Linked DNA regions of Homo sapiens: region 1 is linked to region 2. Evidence: promoter capture Hi-C in human tissues and cell types (Jung and others, 2019). All regions are on one chromosome and are shown on one strand. The core of a region is centred on a gene start or on the middle of the fragment in contact, and the rest is flanking DNA. Distances in the headings are between cores, read along the strand shown.

Region 1 (4,694 bases), core at 1,769-4,268, 270 kb after region 2:
CCCCTTTCCTCTGGTTTCTCCTCAACTGGAGAAGCCACCAGAGTCTCTAGGCAGAGGGAAGCACTCTCCCTCTCCCATTGAACTACCTGGGCCTGATTCCCACCTCTCAATACGTTAAGAAAGACCTGGGCCTGTCCTCCCTCAAGATACAGGATGGCCCTTCCCTATGTCTAGCCTGTTTCTCCTGCTGTGGAGCTGGAGGTAGAGACCAGGGTCCCCCAACAAAAGAGAGGAGTTAATGAATTACCCTTGACCCCCTCCACCAGTACCCCACCCCAGGCTCCCAGGCCCTGAACGCGTTTGCTCTACCAGCCCCCACTGGCCCTCAGAGCCGGAATCTACCACCCCAGGCTCTGGGGCTGGAGCTGGATGCCCGTGTCATTAAGAGAGAGACTTTTATTATTCCCATAGGGAAGGGGGACACTGGGGATCACTAAACTACAGTGGTGCCTGGAAAATAAATTAAAACAGAAATGCATCAAAACAAAAGGGAGATTGGAGACACGGAGAGCAGCTGGGAGGCTGCGGTGGCGGGCGGGCCCGCCCAGGCAGGCAGGCTCTCCGAGGAGAAGGCCAAGTGGTCCCAGGCCTCAGCCAGCCCATTGCTTGTCCCTCTGTCAATGGCGGCCCCGGGCTTCAAGCCCTGTGGGGCCATGACTCCAGGCCTCCCCAAAGCCTGGCCAGGGAGTGGCCAGAGTCCAGCTTGGGCCCACGCAGGGGCCTGGCCAGCAGCAAGCAGCACTCTGCCCTCGTGGGTTTGTGGTTGCCCACCCTAGTCATTGGAGGTGACATCGATGTCCTCCCCATTGGCCTGCTTCGTGGCAATGCGCCACCGGTTGATGTGATGGGAGCCCTTCTTCTTCTGCTCGGACTCAGGCCCTTCCTCCTCCAGCTTCTGCCGTTTGTACTTTGTCCTCCGGTTCTGGAACCACACCTTCACCTGGGCCAGGGAGGGAGGGGCACAGATGAGAAACTCAGGAGGCCCCCAGAGCAGCCACTGGGGCCTCAACACTCAGGCTGAGCTGAGAGCCTGATGGGAAGACTGAGGCTACATAGGGTTAGGGGCCCCAGGCCGGGGTCCCCTCTGACCAGCTGCTCCCATGGGTCTAACATTCACAGAAGGGGATGGCAGGGCAGGAAGAGGACACAGTGGGCCAGAGAGAAGGGTGGTTTTCCTGTTCCTCTCAAACAAAGGGTCACAGAGCTGCTGTGCATCCTAGCTCCTCTAGCCCCAGCAAAGCCAAGCCAAGGTGGAGGAGTGCAGGCTCTGGAAGCCGGCAGACATGGGACTCTACGAGTTTCTAGAGGAGAGATCATAATCGCTTCTTCACAGAGTGGATGTGAGTAGTAAATGAGAGAGCCTATGACCCACTGCGTGGGTTCCCATGATCTCCCACAGGGCCTAAAGTGGACACCACCCCACGGGCCAGCCCCATGCTCTTTTCCATACAGAGAGGCAGAATGGGCATGGTTTCATAACTAGGAGGTGGTGTTTATATCAAGAGCAGTGCCTGGACAGCCAGACTATCCCTGGGGGCACAGAACCCGCTGCTAGAGACTCCAACCTCACACACTGTGTGGTCTCCTTCAGGGGAGGCTTTCTTAGCAACCTCATGTAGCTCTCTCCCACCCCTCATCAGAGGCTGGAGCTGGGCAGGTGGGGGGCCTTGTCCCTCAGGTGCCAGCTCCTCAGGGTAGTCCGAAATCCACCAGTGAGACCTCATTCTCCTTGGACAGACAAGGACAGGGAGGAAGCGGGTCTGAGGGCAGCATTCTGCCCTTCACGGGCAGCTCCAGACCTTCTGTCCCCACAGCACTGGCTCCTGCAGCCCATCCAGATGTGGGAACAGGTCACACAAGGAACAGTCAGGAGAAGCCCAGGGGACAGAAGTGAGCTCTACTTTGAACCCAGGGAGCCCCCTATTCTGTGTCTGGCAGTGAGAGCCCTGGCAAGGTATGGGGTGGGGTTCAAACAGAAACTGGACAACCATCCTCCATGATGGAGGAGGCATGAGGCAGAGGGCAGGTCTATGGTTCTAAGCCATCTCCTCCAGGAAGCCTCTTTTCCCTCCTCCTCCAGCATCTGTTCAGTGTCCAGGACACAGCCCTTAATGTCCTCTCATGCATAATCTGGGAGGCTCATCCTGGCTCCTGGACTGGACTTAGTGCTTGTGGGCTGTGGAGAAAGCCTTCATCTGTCAACTCTCCCTGACTCCGTGGTTCTTTACTTGGCTTTGCAGAGTCAGGCCAGACCCAAACCATCTTCAGCGTTGGCAGGAGGATCCTGGGTACTGATTCTCAGCTAAGTCCCTTCCCCCTCTGGGCTTCAGTCCTTCATGCATAGAGGAAATGTTCTGGGGACACTTGCAGCTGCCAGGGCACCTCTTGGATTCTTGCTCCAGAGGCCCCCCTTGGGGAGGAGGTGCAGAGGGCAGGCTACAAGGCCTGGATGGTTTCCAGGAAATGACAGCACATTTAAAAGCAAGTGGATGTGGCCAACTGCAGCTGTGCAGACGGTGCTGCGTGGCAGAGTTGCGGGTGAGGAATGGTGGGTAGCCTCTTGGTTTTGGCAGCAGCAATGATGCTGAGGAGAGATCCTTGAACCCTGGGCAGGGCTGAGGGCAGGCCTCAGAAAGACTGCTCCTGCTCCCAGAGAACTGGGTAAAGCACAGGCCTTAGCCACAAGGCCAAGCAGTGCATGCAGAGGCAGGCCTGGCCCCTGTGCCCTGCAGATGGTTTCATGCCCAGGAGGTGCTGCCCCTACACCCTTCCCAGGCAGTCCTCTCTGTCCCACCTACCCCAGGACTTCCCCTCACAGTCCCCTCTTGCCAGAACTTCCACTGCGCCATCTGCCCTTGTTTGAGAGCACTGATTTTAGAGCACTGGCATGGGGATGGGGGCAGCTGGCATTCAGTGCCTGCAGAGCAGCCAGCCAGGGGCTGGAAAGCTGGCCCAGGAAGGGTTGGTGCCCGGCCTCGATGGATGGAGTGAGGGCAAGGGGATTCTCCCCTCATTTCCAAGCCCATAGCCTGCACATCTCACCTAGGCCGGCCGTGGAGGATGGCAGAGGCTCTGGGCACAGGCTGCTGGACTCCAAGCCCACCTATCTTTGGGCGCAGGGCCACCTGGACCCTGGGTGGTTCTCAGCACAACCATTTGGCAGCAGCCTGGCCCCTGCCCCCCACCCTGGAGCCTGCTATGACTGTGCCAGTCAGTGGGCGGGTGAGCTCACCCTGCCTCCTGTGCGTGACTCAGGGCCAGATGCAGGGCCGGGGTGTCATTCCTGAGAAGCCCAAGTGGGCTGGCCGAAGGTGACTGTCAGGTGATGCGGGCAGTACCAGGGACCGGGGGCCCTTTTCTGTACCTTCCTCTTTCCACATGCATTTCCAAGTGTCCTTCAGGAAGGAGACTGACGGTCACATTGGCCTGTAGTGGGACGGGCCCAGCATGCTGCCCTTGACTAGCAACACTGGCTCAAAGAAGGAAAGCTTTGGATGGCGACTTCAGGCACAGGATAGGCCAGAGGCAGCTTCCTAGGGCACCCAAGTGAAAGGTGATTCTGAATATTTTCTCCATGAAAAATACTGGGGTCAAGTAGGCATCTCTCTAGAGGCAGGGACATAAACCCTCTCCCTGTGCAGCCTGGCCATCTTCCGGAGAACAGCCTTGGGCTGAGTGTCCAGATGCTGTTTACAAAGACTGCAATAACAGGGTAGTGCTTATGACTTCATAGCATTAATGGAAACGCCAGGATGCACAAGGCTGGCACAGTGTGATCACAACCATAGAAAAACAAAATCTACACACGGGGAAAAAAGACTAGAAGGAAATATACCTAAAGTGTGGGTGATGTTTCTTTCTTCTTTCTACTTTTCTGAATTTTCCTTAATAGATTATTGATAATGGTAGTTATTTTTTACTTGGAAAAAGAAAAGGAACTGGGCTCTGAGTGTATTAGGAGATGAGAGTGACATTTCATGACCTCTCCAACCCAGCCAGGCAACTCTGGATCCTTCAGAGCCCCTTCCCTAGAGAAAACAGGCCCTGGAAAGGAGCTGGGTCATATGGTATGGCTTGGAGGCTGGATCTGTCCTGCACATGCCTCCCCATCCCCAACACAAACACACTACTCACCTCTCTCTAAGCCCCGAGGTACAGTTGGAATGTTAGCTGGAGGACCCCTTGCCCACTCTGACCTCTCTGCTGTAGCAAGAGGTCCCTTGTGGTCTCCCAAGTCCTCATTTCACTGTGAAGTGAACATCTCAGTTTCTCAGAGGCCACATCCTTCCAAAAGTCTCCATTCTCCTGACTTACCAACCCTGGAATACTCTCCTTAGCCTTCAAGACCCTGTCCTGATGTTCCTTAATGGTCCTGCCCCATCACCTGCCTGTAGTTCCTTAGTACCTCTTCCCAGTCTCAGTAACAGTGACCCCCACTGTGCACTAATTTATTTATTTACGTCTGCCTCCTCACCAGACTATGAGACTGGAGAGCCAAACTGTTATGTTAGTCCCAGTGCCCTGCCCAGAGGACATGTTCCATGTATAGTCATCTGGCTGGACAAGCCTATGCTCTAGGCAAGAGGTACCTGGGCCAGACCTGGAAAACAGGAGAAAATGAACAGAAGAGGGGTAGAATTCTAATCAGCAAAGGCTTTGAGAAGTGCTCAATGATGGAGAAACTGGATCTTTTT
Region 2 (4,587 bases), core at 1,172-3,671:
GCAGGAGAATGGCGTGAACCCGGGAGGCGGAGCTTGCAGTGAGCCGAGATTGCACCACTGCACTCCAGCCTAAGGACAGAGCAAGACTCCGCCTCAAAAAAAAAAAATAAAAAAATAAAAAAAATTAGCCGGGCATGGTGCTGGGGCTTGTAATTCCAGCCACTCCAGAGGCTAAGGCAGGAGAATCACTTGAGACCGGAAGGAGGAGGTTGTAGTGAGCAGAGATAGCGCCACTGCACTCCAGCCTGGGAGACAGAGTGAGACTCCGTCTCAAAACAAAACAAAACAGAACAAAAGAAAACAACTAACTTGAAAATGAGGCAACTGTAACATGAAGTAGTAAACTGTAATTCAGACCTCAGGTGTGTGAAGAGCTCAGAGAAAGGTGACTGGGAGTGATGGGCACAGCTCCCAGATCCAGTGGTATTGAATTTAGATGGGGCTGCGAGTCCAAGGGTTAATGCACTGCTGAAATGGGGTGAGGAAATGCAGGATTGGGGTGGGTGCCACGGAGTAGGAACCCGGCAAGACTGTGTTACAACTATCTTTGTATGGGTTGATAAGGCTTGGACTAACTTTGCTCCTGTTTTCTTCGTGGGGACATGGGGAAACATGAACCTGGCAACCAAAAATGGCAAAAGCACGTGTAGGTGGATGTTTAATGCTAGAAGGCAAAGTTCCCTCTATAGTTACTTTTTTTTGTTGATTTGTTTGTTTGAGACGGAGTCTCACTCTGTTGCCCAGGCTAGAGTGCAGTGGCGCAATCTCGGCTTAATGCAACCTCAACCTCCCGGGTTCAAGTGATTCTCCTGCTTTAGCCTCCTGAGTAGCTGGGATTACAAGCGCGCGCCACCACGCCCTCCTAATTTTTTGTCTTTTTTTTTTTTTTTTTTTTTGAGACGGAGTTTCGCTCTGTCGCCCAGGCTGGAGTGCAGTGGCGCGATCTCGACTCACTGCAAGCTCCGCCTCCCGGGTTCACGCCATTCTCCTGCCTCAGCCTCCTGTGTAGCTGGGACTACAGGCACGCGCCACCATGCCCGGCTAATTTTTGTATTTTTAGTAGAGACGGGGTTTCACCGTGTTAGCCAGGATGGTCTCGATCTCCTGACCTCGTGATCCGCCCGTCTCGGCCTCCCAAAGTGCTGGGATTACAGGCGTGAGCCACCGCGCCCGGCCAATTTTTTGTCTTTTAAGTAAAGATGTGGTTTCACCATGTTGGCCAGGCTGGCCTTGAACTCCTGACTTCAGGTGATCCACCCGCCTCGGTCTTCCAAAGTGCTGAAATTACAGGCGTGAGCCACCGCGCCCAACCTTACAATTACTTTCTCATGAGATTTAAGTGCCTGGCCCTTAAGCACTACTTAAGAGCATTGCATGCACGCAGGCTCAGAGCGAAGTGTGTAGCTCAAGTTCACAGACGTGAGCAGTGGAGGCGGTAGTGGGGTGTGAGCCTTGACCAGCTCCTAACAGCTCCTCGCTCAACAGCACCGCCCGGAGCGTCCACTTCCCCCTACCCCGTAAAAAAAAAAAACAGGGCCATTGGTTCGGGTCGAGAGCCGCTTTGGGAAGCGTCTCTGTCACTAAGCGCTACCCCGGGGTGTGCGAGGGAGTCAAGGGACGCGGAGACCGGGAGCAGGGCTGGGTCCCCTTGCAGCCCCAGCGCTGGCCTCCTGCCCACCGCATTCAGGCGCTGCGCCGCCCTCACACCCACCCTCTCCCACCTCAGCAGCGTGCGGGGGAAGCCTCGCGCCGGGGTCTTTTTCAGCAAGACTGTCGCGGTCCTCGGCTTCAACTGCAAGGTAAACGGTGGCAGAGCCCCTTCCCACTCCAGCCGTGTGTGATTCTCACACTCAGTGCCCTCTCCTGCACTGGGGCGCCGGCAGTGGCGACCTAGGCTCTCCAGCCCCCGCCCAGTCCCCCGCGTGCGGGCGCCGGGACCGCAGTACCTGTGACGCCGAAGCCCAGCAGGCCGCAGACGGGAGCCACGCGCGGCCCTGGCACAGGGTAAAAACCTACGCTCAGGTAGGCGGGCAGCCACGATGTCGGGCAAGCCCAGGGCAGACCCCCGGTGGCGCACAGGGAAGCAGCGGTCCAGAAGGCCGGGTGGACGCAGGCGGAGCCCGACGGCTGGGAGGCCGCCGGCGCGCAGGGGTCGGGCCTCGCCAGGATGGCCTCGACCGAGAAAGGGGACTCGAAGCGTCCGGGAGCGCGGGGCGTGTTCGGGCCAGTAGGGGACCTGGGCGCCGGAGAGCGGCCAGAGCGCGGAGGTCGGACCCGAGAGCCCGAGGGAGCGGGTGGCGGGCTGCCTCGCGGCCTGGGGCTAGGCATGACGCGGCCGTTGCCCGGACGGACGCAAGGAAGGGAGCTCGGGAGAAGTGAGAAGATTCTGCAAAAGGCAGCGAGCAAGACCGGTTGTCTGGGAACCTCCTGGCGCTCGGCGAAGGCTCTTAAATTTGGCGGGGCGGGGCATGGGGCGGCCTCTCCCCACTGCGGTCCGGGCGGGGCCCCCAAAGCCTGTGAGCGCCCGCTCTGTGCGAGGCAAGGTGGGCACAGCACCAAAGAGTGTGTTCCCTCCCTTCCTCCGCTTTTAAAAATGCCCACCCTGGGGCGGTCGTGGGGAGGACTCTGAGCTCGCTGGTGATCCTGGGCGAAACACCCAGCCACCGGGCTCCGTCTTTCTCCTTTGCTCACTGAAGAAGGGATGCCCGTTTCCCCGGGGCCTTGCAGAGGCGGAGCTGTGATCTGGAGAGCGGTAGGGCAGTGCCTGCGGTCTTGGCCTCAGCTGACCCGCGCCGTCCTTGACGCAGAAGCCTCGGCCAGATTCACCTAGGACCGCGCGGACTTTTTGTTTGTTTGTTTTAAAATGTAAATATTTTATTTATAAGCACAGTGATAAGTACATTTTCCATCTGGCCTCAGCCCTTTAGTTTCCCTGCCTTGAGATGCGCTGTGATTACCAATTTCGTTCTTTCTTTAATATTTTTTTTGGCCAGGTGCAGTGGCTCATGCCTGGCATCCCAGTACTTGTGTGGGAGGCCGAGGCGGGAGGATCGCTTGAGCTCAGGATTTGATTTGATTTGATTTGAGTTGATTTAGGGGTAAAAGATATGGCCACTATGTCTCTAACCTTGGACTTTTAGTATATAATTCTGTGTTTCCATACATAATTATCAGTTTTCTGTTGTGTCATTTATTCCTTCTTCAGACTGTAAATTCCTGAGCATAAGCATTAATATCTCCAATTTACATATTAGTAAATACAGCAAGAGAGGTTAACAGAACTGCCTTGTTTCAAATCCCCTAGGTATGTGGTTTTAATTTGCATTTATTTCCCTGAAGACCGTTCATTGTGAGCATCTTTTTACATGCTTATCAGCCACTTGGATATCCTCTTTTGTGTGAAGTGCCTGTTCAACTGGTTTGCTTATTTTTGTATTGGGTCACTATGTTTTTCTTATTGTAAGAGTTTTATGTATAGATAATTTGGAATCAAGTCCTTCGTTGTAATATACATAGAAGCAGATAACCTCTGTCACTCTGTGGCCTGCCTTTTCATTCTTTTAGTAGTCCTTTTTTTTTTTTTTTCTGAGATGGAGTTGCCCAGGCTAGAGTGCAGTGGCACAATCTTGGCTCACTGCAACCTTTGCCTCCCAGGTTCCAGCGATTTTCCTGCTTCAGTAGCTGGGATTACAGGCATGTGCCACCACACCCAGCTAATTTTTGTTAAGTATACCAAAAATAAAGCCAAACGAATAACAGACTTTATTTTTATTCATTTATTTATTTATTTAGAGATGGAGTTTCACTCTTGTTGCCCAGGCTGGAGTGCAATGGCACTCGGCTCACTGCAACCTCTGCCTCCTGGGTTCAAGCGATTCTCCTGCCCCAGCCTCCTGAGTAGCTGGGATTACAGGCACCCGCCACCATGCCCAGCTAATTTTTTGTATTTTTAGTAGAGATGGGGTTTCACCATGTTGTCCAGGCTGGTCTTGAACTCCTGACCTCAGGTGATCCACCCGCCTTGGCCTCCCAAAGTGCTGGGATTACAGGCGTAAGCCACCGCACCCAGCCCTACAACAGACTTTAAAAAGACCACTGAGATGGGTTAGTACATGAACTAGGCACTTTATAAAAGGAAATATCTGAATAGCTTAAAACCATATGTGGCTGGGCGCGGTGGCCCATGCCTGTAATCCCAGCACTTTGGGAGGCCAAGGCGGGCAGATCACTTGAGGTCAGGAGTTTGAGACCAGCCTGGCTAACATGGTGAAACCCCATCTCTACTAAAAATACAAAAACTAGCTGGGTGTTGTGGTGGGTGCCTGTAATCTCAGCTACTCGGAGGCTGAGGCAGGAGAATTGCTTGAACCTGGGAGGCGGAGGTTGCAGTGAGCCAAGACTGCACCACTGCACTCCAGCCTGGGCGAAAGAGCGAGACTCTGTCTCAAAAAAAAAAAAAGTATGAAACATACTGAACTCTGTGAGTCATCAGGGAAATGCAAATTCAAATCACATCGTGATCCACTATACACGCACCAGAAGATGGAAAATACCAAGGGCTGGCTGGGCACGGTGGCTCACACCTGT

What was found. The method cuts DNA at HindIII sites, captures the fragments that hold promoters and counts their contacts. A contact is called where the count stands out against the background at its distance.
Region 1: a fragment that was not itself captured here is called in contact with the fragment with the promoter of NOTO in region 2 in 2 of the 25 tissues and cell types used here (spleen and thymus).

What each region holds. Positions count from the first base shown.
Region 1 is chr2:72,930,033-72,934,726 of GRCh38, reverse strand. EMX1 (empty spiracles homeobox 1) reads right to left here. Exons shown (of 3, transcript NM_004097.3): 3 at 1-940. The coding sequence ends at 773. Among named protein-coding and RNA genes, the nearest start is that of EMX1, 15 kb to the right of the region's middle. The HindIII fragment of the contact is 3,445 bases long and covers 1,296-4,694 here.
Region 2 is chr2:73,200,408-73,204,994 of GRCh38, reverse strand. NOTO (notochord homeobox) reads right to left here and starts at 2,421. Exons shown (of 3, transcript NM_001134462.2): 1 at 1,947-2,421. The coding sequence starts at 2,328. RefSeq lists an enhancer at 1,027-1,578. The HindIII fragment of the contact is 15,336 bases long and covers 1-4,587 here.